Regions from separate parts of the Homo sapiens genome. Here region 1 is linked to region 2. The links are contacts of gene promoters, found by promoter capture Hi-C in human tissues and cell types (Jung and others, 2019). All regions are on one chromosome and are shown on one strand. Each heading gives the region's core, a stretch centred on a gene start or on the middle of the fragment in contact. The rest is flanking DNA. Distances are from core to core; before and after follow the strand shown. Region 1 overlaps HECW1 (HECT, C2 and WW domain containing E3 ubiquitin protein ligase 1). Region 2 holds the start of BLVRA (biliverdin reductase A).

What was found. The method cuts DNA at HindIII sites, captures the fragments that hold promoters and counts their contacts. A contact is called where the count stands out against the background at its distance.
Region 1: a contact is called between a fragment that was not itself captured here and the fragment with the promoter of BLVRA in region 2, in 1 of the 25 tissues and cell types used here (pancreas).

What each region holds. Positions count from the first base shown.
Region 1 is chr7:43,556,490-43,563,507 of GRCh38, reverse strand. HECW1 (HECT, C2 and WW domain containing E3 ubiquitin protein ligase 1) reads right to left here. Exons shown (of 30, transcript NM_015052.5): 30 at 1-1,693. The coding sequence ends at 1,582. Among named protein-coding and RNA genes, the nearest start is that of STK17A, 23 kb to the left of the region's middle. The HindIII fragment of the contact is 6,407 bases long and covers 1-6,234 here.
Region 2 is chr7:43,756,013-43,763,045 of GRCh38, reverse strand. BLVRA (biliverdin reductase A) reads right to left here and starts at 4,366. Exons shown (of 8, transcript NM_000712.4): 1 at 4,312-4,366. It also overlaps the pseudogene LOC107986727. RefSeq lists silencers at 3,942-4,261, 4,272-4,661 and a cis regulatory region at 5,683-6,450. The HindIII fragment of the contact is 11,547 bases long and covers 470-7,033 here.

The DNA of each region.
Region 1 (7,018 bases), core at 1,782-4,281, 200 kb after region 2:
AAATTCACTTCGTCTTACATTTCTCCCTTGTTTTAATATGGAAAACAATTAAATGACATTTAAATAGTGGGGTCTCTTGAGCTCTTCTTTTTCCCAGTGAAGAAAAACACTTTCATTTATGACCTATTTCAGGCAACATGGATAACAACGTTAGAAAAATAGCAAATGACCATTATGGTTGGGTTTATTTCAAATGTAGTTGAGAGGTTAGGCTGTCTTTGGAGCCTGCAGCTGTTTTTCTGACAACATGAAGTTTTCTGAGATATGTTTTCACTGAATGCTAAAAGAAACTGGATATTTATTTTGATACAAATCAACGTGCCTTTGGGGTGTTATGTTTCTGCCCCAGGAGGATTACTATGGGTGAAGGAGAAGTACTATGTTGCCCTTGATCCCTAACAAGCACCATCACTCTCTGCAGCTTCCTAGTGTGGTCCCGATGGACAATCGAATGCAAAGGAACTTGAACTCCATGATTAAGAAAGGAAAAGGAAAAAAAAATGTGAAAAAAAAATATCAAAGTTTTAAAAAAAGGGTTTGTCTGCCAAGCAAACAAAAGTCATGGCTTTAACAAAAGTCATGGTATCATCTACACATTTTTTTTTCCTTTGTGAAGAACTGTGGCTAGACTAAACAAAACAGAACAGTACAGAACTCAGGGATTCAAACCAAGGTAATATGTCCTTCTTCCCTTTCTCCAGTTGGCATTGCCACATTCTACATAAGACAATGGGGGCTGAAGCCTCATCCTTCATGCTACCTCAATCAAGAAGCTTTCTTTCTTGGACATGTGCACAAGTTTGTCCTTCTTGTGGTGTGAGTATTCACTAGGGATGCTCCCCCTCCTAAACTTCTCTTGAGTTGAGCCCACAATCCCCACAACCATTGGGATGCATTGCATTGCATCAGCAGCAGGTGTTTTCTTGCTGTTGTTAATCGTTAGAAGTGTCATATTTGCACCGTATGTCTAGGCTAGTTCCGGCTGATGGGACTGATGCCACATGTGAATCATGAGTTGAATGTATAAAAATTTCAGCTTTGCCACTGTTGTCCTTTGGATGGATATTATGCACAGGGAAAAGTAGATGGAGAGGAAAACAAAGAGTTGATCAGCTCCTAGTTCTGGAGTTGGTTATTAGAAATTATAAAAAATGGTGGCTCTGCTCAGAAGACATGGGCATATGAAAGCCTGGAGTGCTTAATGCTCACATTTTCCCTTCAATGATAGAAATGGAAGTAAACATTTATTACCATTTGGTCAAGTGTAGCTTAACTTGCATTCATATTTCATTGTTAGTAATGGAGGTATGTGGAGATATACACAGACCTTGAGACAGCTGTTTTTTAATATTGCATACAGGCTAGCAGTTCATTGAAAACAGAGGAGAGAAGCCTGAAGGTTAGATCTTAGAAGAAGGCAGTTCTTCATGCACAGCTTTTGTCAATCCTGATTTGGTTTGAAAATAAAAATCATGGAATACCAAAATCAAAGGAGAGTTGATTAAGGGAAAGGGAAAAGGGGATCATCCCAGGAAGGGTGATGTCACTGGCCAGGAAAATGTCAGGCGAGGTTCCATGTCCTCACTCAAGTCCAAAGGTGCTGGTTTCCTCTACTGCTGTTAACAGCTTTTCATACAACATGGAGTACGAGGGATACGGTGGAAGATCCAGTCGGTTGAAGCATGTGTGTGCCCTGAATGGGGAGAAGAGATTGGTGAGAGTGTTTGTTTCAATGATACAACTGGTTCTGGATCTGTGACTGTCTGAAGTTGTGATTCAAAAAGGAATCAAAAGTGAGCAGGACCATGATTTAGGACCACCATAAAACATTGCACACTAAAGAGCCACATTCCTCTAGAATGAATAGACTGGTGGAAGGAATGGAATAACTAAAAATGGGTTGTTTGCATTTGCAAGCAAACCAACTACACTAGAATGACACTAGCAAACTGATTATAAACTCTATGGTATCAGCCTGATTTGCAAATGAGTTACAAATTTTGATGTGGTCAATGAAGGAGGCAGAAATATAATTAGTATTGAAGGATTATATTCCTAAGTCTTCTTGCCCAGCTCTGATTTCTGAGCCTCTGTGAACCACATGCATCTATTTAGAGGAACCTGAGATGGCCTGGAATTCTGAGATCCAGTTCTCCATTCAAGTCAAGTGTGCTCTGGAGACAAGTCTGACTCCTCTACCCCAGTAGAACCCACAGAACCTAAAGTCGAAGTGCTGCATTTCCAAGAAAAGCTGCCCGTGTGAGCCAGTCCTCTCTGGATGCCTGGAGTGTCCTGGCGCCCGGGGTTCTAGCTTGCTTCATGTGCTTCCTCCTGCATGGCCAGTGTCTGCCTTAGACAAGGAATGTCTTCCTCGCCAGAGGCTAACACCTGGACCTGGAAGACTCATGTGGCTCTCCAGCAGTGGGTACAAGAAGCCCAGCACACATAGATTCCCTGCTGTGGAGCCTTGAATCACCTGACTAGCTGCTCCCTGCCAGAAGTTCTTTGTTTTTACAGAAACTTTGGCTGATGCCGAGTCCTGTACCGTAGTAGAGAGAAAGGTGGATGGGTGCAGGTGAAAGTTCATTTCCTGCCTTTTCCTCCCTAAGGGTGGTGTGTTGAAATGGTGTTTTCAGACACCAACCAGCACAGAAAAGGGCACTCTAAAATCAAACCAAATCAAATAAAATCAAATCACAAAACAAACATACAAAGAAACAAACAAAACTAAACTCTTCATTAGAGTTTTATTTGGGATATTAAACTCTTCTTTTCATTACAAGATCCCTAGGGGACTTGTGTATTATTTACACCTTTGTTTTAAAGTATATAAATCAGAGTATCAGATCACTGCCCAGGCTGATGCAGCACTCAGGTTACGGGGGGAGATTATTTTGGGAATAAGGAAGATGGGAAGAGGAAAGAGGGAAGGTGGGGTTTCCTGCCCATCGAGAATCTAGGGAGGATGCTGGTGTTTTCATCTGCCCAGCACCCATTCCTCCTCCTGGCAGTCCTTGGGGAACTATCCCTAACCCCTACCTCCCTCCTCCCTGTCCCTTTCCCCGCTCAAGCTCCAAAGGCAGGCACAGGGCAGTAGAGTGTCTGGTCTTAGGCCTTAAAGACATAACTGGGAAGAAACATACGAATACAGATTGGCAGAATTCTTAAATTATTATCTAAGATTCAAACAGGCCTTCCTTTACTTTAAAAGAAAATAATTGAAATACTTTACCTAGATGTAAATATTTGAGTGAAAGGGAACTCAGTAAATTGAGTAGGATGGTTACAGTGATTTCTCTCTATGTTAAAAAGATTGCAATGAAACTAGAACATACATTGGGCTATGGCTAAACAGGCGAAGTGGGGTGAAAAATCCCAAGCATGCTTTTGGAACTAGCTGAATTAGCCAGGGGCGAGATAGGAGCAGGCATCATCTTCATAGTTTTCTTCCTCTGGTCATTTTAACTGGCACTCATGAGTGGAAATATTACAGAAAAAAAATCACCTTTACAAATTAGTTGGAACCAAATTAATTCTGTAAAAGATCATTTCTGGGAGTAAACAGAAAGCATTGACGAATAGCACCTAGTCTGAACACTCATGGTTTACTTACTAGTTGCTTTTATTGCATTTATTTAGAGCCTTGGTGAACTCCCTTAGTTTGTCATCTAGAATGAACGAACACAATCAAATCATGATCCAATTCAGCATTCCTAAGAGCTCACCACCCTCCAGGTGTGGTTCTGACAGCACCGAGTGCCTGCTTACCTCATTCCCGTGCACCAAACCAAGCATTGCCCGGTGGTGTGGGGCAGTGGACAGCAAGAAACCAGGGCTTGGAAGACTTCTATGCTGACCCCGGTCTAGTCACTTACCAGCTTTATGACACTGGAAAAGTCAATTAATCTTCCTGAGCCTCAGTTTTCTCACTTGTAAAGTGGGGATAATAATATATGCTGCGTGCACCTCAAAGGGTTATGGGGAGGATCAACGCCAGAACACACATAAATGCGTTTTGTAACCTGTGAATCATCATTTAAACATAAGATTCTCTTAATAATGCAACCATGATTGTGATAATGATTTGGGGAACCGTGTCATACTTGTGGCAACTGAAGCCTCTGGAGTTTTGCACGTGACCTACTGGCAGGTGACTCACTCTCTTCTCACACTTGGTGCGATGGATGTTTTGGAGATCTGCACGGGTCTTTAAGTTGTGTCGAATTCCATGCCATTGGTGTCAAGCTAGGGTTCCAGCATTTTGAGATAATTTTGGATTGGGTTGTGCCAATCCCTGTATTGTTTATCCTTCTAACTGTGTCATCTACACAGTTGATCTCCCCGTCTCCTCTATTTTTCCAAGTTATAGATTGAAATGTTAACCAACACAGGGCCAAAGAAAGTCTTGCTCCTCTCTACTAGAGACCACTTTAAGGTTGTCTAGAAACACACAAAAGTGGCAGCAGTCACTCCTCTTTGCTGCCAATTGTTCAGCCGGTTATGTAAGTTGTGTCTTCCCTTCATGCCAATCTTCTTCCACTGCCTAACTACAGCCTTGTTCTCTTCAGATAGGCCTTGCTCTCTTTCCTTCTAAATTTACTCTTTTTCAAGTTTGCCAATAACCTCTTGATCCCTAAATCCAGAAGCCCATACCGCTCCACCTGCTCCAGCTCTTTAAAAGCATTTGACAGCTCTTCCTCTGGAACATCTCCCTCCTTGGCTTCTCCTTGGTTTCTCAATGGCTGCCATTTTCTCTGCTGAGCTCCCTGATGGCACCCTCAGGCCTCCTTTGTAGGTCCTCTTCTGGCCTTAGGTACTAGAGAGCAGCATTTCTCAGCTTGACACGATTCACTTTTCAAACTTGATAACTCTTTGTTGTGGGAGCTGTTTTGTGCATTGTGAGATGTTTAGCAGCATCCTTGGCTTCTACTCAATGGACACCAGTAGCACCCCTTCCCCTCAACCAAAAATGTCTCCAGACATTGTCAACTGCCTCTTGCGGGGGAAGAGGGGCAAAGTCGCCTTCCCCAGCCCCACTTTGAGAATCACTGCTACAGAGTAAACCAACTACTAACTTAACCAGGCCTCCAACTCCACCCTGGGTCTGGGCTTAGTTTACATCTGCAGTGAAACATGTTCATATTAGAATTTCGTTTGCAACTTTTAGGCCAGTTAATTGCTCATGACTCATAGCTTTGATATCCCTGGTCCCTGCCCCAAAGGTAAACCCAAAGATTCTCCCCTCTCCTTTATTCTATCTCCACACTGCCCAGTGCTACTTCGACTCTGACCTAGCTTCTGCCCTTCTCTTTCCTTCTGAGCCTTTCCTCTGTCCTCCTTTGAGCTCTTGTTCAAAGTAAAGAAACTTTGCCACCTCCTTAAGCTCTTTCCAGATGCTGCCTCCGGGTCCTAGTGTCCCATCTCCAGTTCTCATGGGTGGAAATTGCTCACTGCCCCACACGCTGTGACGTGGATGGACATTCTTCACACTCCCTGCTGTCAATTCCACGTCATGACTTTTGCAATCCTTGATCAGTTTCCATTCCTTTGAATCTCATGTCATTTAGATAATTTATTTTTAAAACCATAGGTTTTGGCTGGCATTTCATTTTAATGAAATAGGATAGAGCAGAAAATAGATTTTATTGCAGATAATAAGGGTAAAGTGCTGTTTTGAGGAACTTGAGTTTCAGATATACACACACATATGTGCAAATGAGTACATGTGCATGTCCTGAGTTGTGATATAAAAGGCATTTCTTTCTGTGGACTATGGTTTAAGAAGCTTGAAAATCAGTGATCCAGATAGATCTTTGGTTCCTTCTGACCCTCTGAACTTCTAACTTATTATGACTATTATCTGGCACTTTGCTGAAGTCTTCTTTTCCACTTCAAGTCCTCCTACCAGACTGTGTGGCAACTAAGTCCACATGGCTGACAGGGTGAACACCCAAGCCCCCAGTTCCTTGACCTCAACTCCAGTGACAGTCCTGCCTCTCATCTACTTCAACTATGAAATTATATCCCAGAAGCCTCTACCCTCAAAGTCCTTTCTCCTGGCCCTCACACATCTTTTAGCAGGCAGGGGCTTGGACTGACACAAAGGTTTTATGTAGCCTGGGCTATGACCGGGTTTTGCTGTGGCGGTGTCTGGCGCTCTCATCTGGGAAGCCAGTTGCCTTTCCTTTCTGCAGAGGAAGGACTTGAGGAAAGAGCTGAAGGCTGCCTCTCCCAGAGTGCAGGCCACATGCACTGTGGCTCACAGTACCTGGGAAGCCCATGCCACCCTGGGTCTGCTTTGCTTCCTGCCTGCTCAGGGCTTCCTGTCACCTGCCATAGTCAGGTCAGGTCTTCCCGAACGACAGTTTCTGGAAGTCAGAGGTTCTTTCTTTCTATCCACACATAGATGACATTTTTTTAGGTTCTTTGATCTTCAGACATTGTCCAAAGGAGATTGGACAGGGGTCACTATTCAGGGAGTTATTTTCAGTGTCCTCTTAGAGGCATTTGCTTCTTGTCCCAAGAAGAGGTCCCTACTTCCCCAAGAAACCATCTCGGGGGCTTGTGGTGCAGCAGCCCTCTTAGGGGTGCCTTGGTTCAGATATGAAGAACGTGTTCATAAGCCCAATGTCTGCCTTAGAAGCTCTCTGTGTGGGTTAATAATATTAATGTGTATTTCAAAGCTTCCAAAGCAAATATGGAAATTACATTCAATCTGTGACCCCAGATAACAGAAGCAATGACTCTCATTTCCTAAAGAATAGAGACTCCTCAGCACGGTCTTTTCTTTTTTCTTTCTTTTTTTTTTTTAATTTAATTTGAGACAAGGTCTCACTCTGTTGCCCAGCCTGGAGTGTGGTGGTGCAATCACAGTTCACTGCAGCCTCAGCCTCCTGGGCTCAAGTCATCCTCCTGCCTCAGCTTCCCAAATAGCTGGGACTACCGGTGCATGCCACCATGCCCAGCTAATTTTTTAAATTTTTTGTAGAGACGAGGTCTTGTCCTGTTGCCCAGGTTG
Region 2 (7,033 bases), core at 3,117-5,616:
CCAACTGATAAACTTGGCAGTATATCAGTTTGCAGCATCCCTGGCCTTTCCCCACTAGATGCCAGTGGCACATACCGTTTTCCCCCCAGCACGACAATCAGAAATGTCAGTAACAACTACTGGGTTAAGGGCCGGGCACGGTGGCTCATGCCTGTAATCCCAGCACTTTGGGAGGCCGAGGCGGGCATGGGGCTGATCATGAGGTCAAGAGATCGAGACCATCCTGGCCAACATGGTGAAACCCCATGTCTACTAAAAATACAAAAATTACCTGGGTATGGTGGCGTGCACCTGTAGTCCCAGCTACTCGGGAGGCTGAGGCAGGAGAATTGCTCGAACCTGGGAGGCGGAGGTTGCAATGAGCCGAGACCGTCCCACTGCACTCCAGCCTGGGTGACAGAGCAAGACTCCATCTTAAAAAAAAAAAAAAAAAAAAAAAGGAACTACTGGGTTCATGGAAATCACTAAATTATTGCTGACAAAGCTCTAGAGTTTCACATTCCAATTTGCACGTGGGAGAGATGCAAAATCTCACAGTAAATTAATAGCACAGCCAGGACTAAACAGCTTCCTTGGCTTACATTATGTTTCCCTTTTGATTTCAGTCTCTTTCCCACATGCAAATTGGAATCTGAAACTCCAGAGCTTTGTCAGCAATAAATTAGTGATTTTCATTAACCCAGTATTTCTCACCAACATTTCTGATTGTTGTACTCGGGGGGAAAAGGGTATGTGCCATTGGCATCTAGTAGGGAAAGGCCAGGGATGCTGCAAAACATCCTGTGATGCACAGGACACCTTCCTACCCCAACTACACATACACAAAGAATTATCCAGCCCAAAATGTCAACAGTGCCAGAGTTGAAAAAGCCTGGATTACACATCATGCAGAATGAACTACAGCTGTGACCTTCCTCCTTGTTCCTCCTCAAACGCCCTCTCAAGTATCTATTATTGCCCCAAAGCCAGGTGACTCACAGAAGTATGGGGAAGGATTAGGGAGAGGGTGACCCTCTCAGGTGGGGCCAGCTGCCAGCCTCAGAGGTCTAAGGGTAAAGGTAAAAGCAACTCTTGCCCTGGAGGGAGTTGGATACTTTGGGATCTATTGAGAAAAATATAATAGCTACATGGGACACAAGTCTGGAAATATATACATCAAAATATTACCAGTAATTATGTCTCTAAGTGGTGAAACTTTTAGTGACTACTTTCTTTTTGCTTCTCTGTACACTTTAAACTTTTCTATAAAGATTAGTTAACATAATTATTCAAAACTCTAAAAAACATTACAAACTATGCCACTTTCACTGACTGCATCCCTCCTAGCCCCAAACTGAACAGACTTTCACAGGGCAATAACATATCAAGGTGCTCTGATAATGAAGTCCACAGAAAATTTTCCCTATAACTGAGAATCAGGAAAGGCTCTGCTTCCTTCAAGGCCATTAACATTTGGGGGATCAATGAATGAATGAATGAATGAAGTTGCCATGTATGTTTTACTTTCAAAAGACAAGAACCATGTAACTGACCAAGTTTACCTTTCTAGAAACAAATTTGGGACTCAACTACAAAAATATAGGCCTGCAATGACCTATAAGGGAGCCGCTACACAGAGTGGCTATTGGAATATAAATTAATTAAATATAGCACATTTTCATAATCACAGAAAATTCTATTGGATAACACTGAAACACTTCATTCTTTTTTTCCCCTGGAATAGTTTCTTGTACTTATACTTTCTCTCATCTCAATTCCTGGCCATATTTATCTTCTATTTATTTGTTACTATTCTGTGATTTTGTTGCAAATGACCTTAATTCCTTTGTGGATCAATTTGGGGCATTGTACTTTGGAAATATCAGTGTGTATATATGTCACTGTTCCTGAGAGTTCAACCTTCATTTCTGACCATAAGGCAGATCTAGCAGCTCATGTAATGTAGCTATTTCCTCACAGCTCAAAGACGGAAGAGAGGCCGGGTGAAATGGCTCACGCCTGTAATCCCAGCACTTTGGGGAGGCCATGGTGGGTGGATTACTTGAGGTCAGGAGTTCGAGACCAACCTAGCCAACATGGCAAAACCCTGTCTCTACTAAAAGTATAAAAATTAGCTGGTCATGGTGGTGCGTGCCTGTAATCCCAGCTACTTAGGAAGCTGAGGAATGAGAATCACTTGAACCCAGGGGGCGGAGGTTGCAGTGAGCCAAGATGGCGCCACTGCACTCCAGCCTGGGCGACACAGTGAGACTCCATCTCAAAAAAAAAAAAAAAAGACTCAAGAGGACATTGTCAGGAACTAAGCTCCCCTGTCACAAAGGCACTATATTCAGTGTTTTTTTTTTTAAATACACAAAAAGGTATACACTGTCCATTAATGGAAAGTTTCACTATTTGATTAAAGCTTAATTTGAAGCTGAGTAATGCAATGTCTTTTTCAAATTCCAAAATACATGGCTATCAACTTATTTCTAAAATCTTAAATATATGATTTACCACAAAAAACAAATGGCCCAACCTGTTACTACTGATAAATATATGATCATGTCATCAGAGTCCTGGATACGCCAAAGAGAATCAGAAATGAAAATGCGCGCAGCTCCTGCACAGTGGGATTCCCTGTCAGCCCACGGTTCTGATGGAGTGTCGCCTCTACATAGAAGTCAGTGCAATTTTGAGTATTTTACCAGATTTTCAGTTCTAGAAAAAATGACTGGGAGTAATAAGCAGTGTAGATCAAAAACTAAATACAATTATAACAAAGATGAAAATTAATAGATGTGGCCCAAAGTGGCAAATCTTTGACTTTAATCACATGCTAACTGGATAGGCAGGGGGTACAAAGAATAAAAAAGTAAAGATCGGCCGGGCGCGGTGACTCATGCCACGCCTGTTATAATCCCAGCACTTTGGGAGGCCGAGGCGGGTGGATCACCTGAGGTCAGAAGAATTGCTTGAACCCAGCAGGTGGAAGTTGCAGTGAGCCGAGATCGCGCCACTGTACTCCAGCCTGGTGACAGGGCGAGGCTCTGTCTCAAAAAAAAAAAAAAAAAAAAATTACATATGAAATGTGGGAAAACACACTGAGAATTATTCCTAAAAAAGTTGAAGTATAATTAGAGACCCTATTGTAATTTTTAGCTCTCTGGCTACAGAATTTCCCTTCTGATACTTTGTCTAACATTTGACTTGTTTTTCTGGAATGCATCCCGTTAAGGGAAGGATGAGCATATTTATCAATACAATCTTTTAGGAAATAATTAGGAATATACCAATACCTTTATTTCCATAATTTTAATATCTTCTTGGGAATCGTACTATAGAAATTACATTAATGATGGAAAAACTTTCAGCACAGTATTGCTTCCTTTGTAGGTGGTGATGATGACAGCTAACATTTACTGAATCCTTCCCATGCTGAAAACCCTATTGTAAGCTATTTATGTTCGCTAAGTCACTTATTCTTCAGGGCTATCCTACTAAGTAAGCATTATGATTACCCCCACTTTTACAGGTGAGAAAATCGAGGCAACAAGAGGTTGGTTAACGTGCCCAAGATCAGATCGCACAGCGGTATAATAGGATGGAAAACTCCTATCACATAATGAACGTTAAGTGAAAAAAATTAGTATCCAAAACTGTAAGTCTGATGTCTCATTCTTTTTATAATTTAAGTAGTTTATAAATACCCTCATTATTAGCCATATTTCTGAGCACTTCATATGTAGAGTGCACTTTACAGAACACTGTCATGTAACCCTCACACCGTCTACGAAATAAGTGATAGTTTCCAGTTTCCAAAAACGAAAGCGGGGCTAGGAGAGGCCAAGTGCCTCGCGTGGCGCCTCAGGATTCGCCCCAGCGGAGCAGACCCCAGGGCATCCCAGGCGGGTCCCGGCCGAGCTAGCGGCCCTGCGGTGGCTACGCCCGGGCCCAGCCGCTCGCGCTCCTGGAGCCGCCGGACTACGCGGCACGCGGACGCCGAGCCTGCCCTCTTGGGTCTACATAAAAACCGAAACTACGGGCAGTCTTAACCGAAATGGAGACTTAATTTTTTAGACTGTCTTTTGTGTAGTTGAGAAAGCCCCTTGCCGGGACCCGCGCTGCTGGGCCTCCGACCGCGTCCTCACTCCGGGCCCGGGCGGGGCGGGGCGGGGCAGGCGGCGCCCAGGCTGCGTCCCGGCTCTGGCGGCCGCGGGCCCGGGCCTCCTGCGGGCCTGGGGCTTCGAGCTCAGGCCCTAGCGCTCTATGGAAGCCGCGCGCGACCCCCGCTCCCCTGCGCGCGACCCCCGTTCCCCGCGCGCGCCTCACCTGACGCGGGCACCGCTCTCCGTGCAGCCTCCGGGCGCCACCGGCTTTGCGGACCGGGGCGGGATCCCAGCTCCGATTGGCTGCCCGGCTGGGGGGCGGGGGCCCCGAAGCGGGGTGGCGGAGACCGGGAGGGGACCGGAGGCGGTGGGGAAGGGAGTGGACGGAAGGGGAGGGAGGGTCCCGGCCTCGTGCGGTCGCGCGTGAGATCCTGGCCTCTGTGCCCTGGGTCTGGCGCCTGGGGCCGTAAGAACCGTCCGTGCGCCTGCCCTGTTCTCTGCACCCAGCTTGGTGGCGAGGGGTGGGTGGTGGGTGCCGGCCGACCGGAGGGCGTATGGAAGTGGCTGGGCCCCCTCACGGTGTGCCTGGCCCCCTCACGGTGTGCCTGGCCCCGGCGTGGGGGGGGCAGGCCCGGGGGGTGTCGCATCTCTCTTATCCGCCCCCCACTCACCACGTAGAACCCACTGGATCCCATTGGTATTTAGTGGCCCCGGGCCGACTGAACTGGCGCCGAGGCTTACCTGAGTCCTTCCTGTAAATGTGAGGAGCGGAGGGAATATTCCAGGAGGCCGGTGTCTGCGATGTCCTGCTCTTGGGTAGCTAGGAAGTAGTGAACGTGGTCTAGGGAACTGCCTGGGCTCTTATCCACCTGGGAATGGGTTTGTTGGGGATCCTGATGTGGGAGAAGCCAGGGAGCTTCTAGCCTAGTGGGGCTAGGGGAGAAAACAGGGAGAGGGGTGGATTAGGCTGAAGGAAAGAGATCTCTGATCTTAAAGGCAGCGTTCTGACGGGTAAGGTTGACTGGCATTTTCCCCAACAAAGAGTTCTAGTACCGTATTCCATGACCTGACAAGCCTGTTTAAGTGAGGTTTTGTTGAGTGCAAAGAGAGAAGGCTTGGCTTTGAATTTTTATCTCCAGGCGGGACCTGCCTCCTGAACTCCATACTCCTCTATCCAGCTGCCTCCTTAATACCTCCTCTTGGATCTCTAAAATACATTTCAATCTCAACACATCCAAATCTGTGCCCCTGATCTCTTCCCCATAGCATCACCATCTCGATGGCAACTCCATCTTCCAGTTGTCAAGGCCAGAAACCTTGCTGTTTCAGAAACCTTTCTCTCACATCCCACCTCCAGGGCCCAAAAATTCTGTTGGTTGGATCTCCCTAGCATACCCAGAGCCTGACCACTTCTTACCTCTGCCTCCATCATCTGCTACCTGGGTCATGACAGTGGTCTCTTCCCTGATATCCCTGCAGCCTGTCCCCATAAAGCAGCCAGAGTGACCTTAAAAAAAGAAAGCCAGATCAAATTCCTCCTCTGCCCAAAACCTTCCCAGTGGTTTCCCAAACTCAGAGTAAAACCCAAAGCCCTGCCTGATCTGCTCCTCTGTTACCCCTACAACCTCATCTGCTACTGCCTCCCCACTGGCTCACTCTGCTCCAGTCACTCTGGCCTCCCTGCTATTTCTTATGCAAGGCAGACAGGGCTCTGCTGCAGGGTCTTTGCACAGGCTCCTGTCTGTTTGGAATGCTCGACTACTTCTCACTCTTCCTGATATTTTCTCAAATGCTGCCTCATTGAGAACTACCCTAACCACTCCATTTGAAATTGCCACCTGCCCCACTCCTGAATGACTTATTTCTTTAGCTCCTGACTGAATTTGTTTATTTAGCTTATTGTTTGTTATCTGTCTCTTCCATCCACCCCTCCCTGCTGCTGCCCCTTGGGTCATGATATGTCCTTTCTCGGAAAAATAACTGCCACTGATGAGGTACCATATTTTCACTGGCAAGGCCTAGGACATAAGCCAAACTCTGGGGTCTGATTGTGCAGTCACTTTAAATAAACCACAAGAGAAAAGAGTGATTCCCCAAAAGGACATGCTGAGTGCTGCTGCTAGGAGAAGGGATGCTGGCTAGGCAAAACCACAGATGTTCACTTGCTGAGTCAGACCAGTACACCCAGAGGAGCTTTGGGAAAGCCTGTGAGAGGGGCCCTCCATGTCCTTGAGAGCAGAATTTAAAGATGAGACCTCTAACCCCCTCACTTTCTTGTAATGATGTGTTATGAATGCATTGATTTATTTATCTTATCCTTCTAAAGTCTAGTTTTGTATTCAGTTTCTACTTTTTTGAGTAAGAGCTTCCCATTCTACAAAGTAGTGACTCTCTTCAACCTGAAGAACTTTGTGGGAGGTTGGGGGGACAGTAAGACTGCTGTAGGCCACAAGTGACAGAAACCCCACCCAAACAGATTAACAGTTAGGAGGTGTATTAAGGCTCCAGCTCCATTTCTGTGTCATTCTCTTAGCTCTTTTTCTCCTATGTGTAACAAGATATGAAAGTATAGATTTTGATTAGGACAACAAGATATACTAATGTGAAATTCTAGGAAGAGATCTCCAAAGATGTAAGAAAGAATCAGGCGGGAGCCACCTGTAATCGCAACACTTTGGGAGGCCCAGGCAGGCAGGTCGCAGCCTGGGCAACATGGTAAGACCCCGTCTCTACTAAAAATACAAAAATTAGCCAGGTATGGTGGCATATGCCTATACTCCCAGCTACTCTGGGAGGGAGGCTGAGGCATGAGAATCACTTGAACCCGGGAGACAGAGGTTGCAGTGAGCCAAGATAGCACTACTGCACTACAGCCTGGGAGACAAAGTGAGACTCCATCTAAAAAAAAAAAAATTAAAAAAATAATAAAAGTAAAAAATAAAATA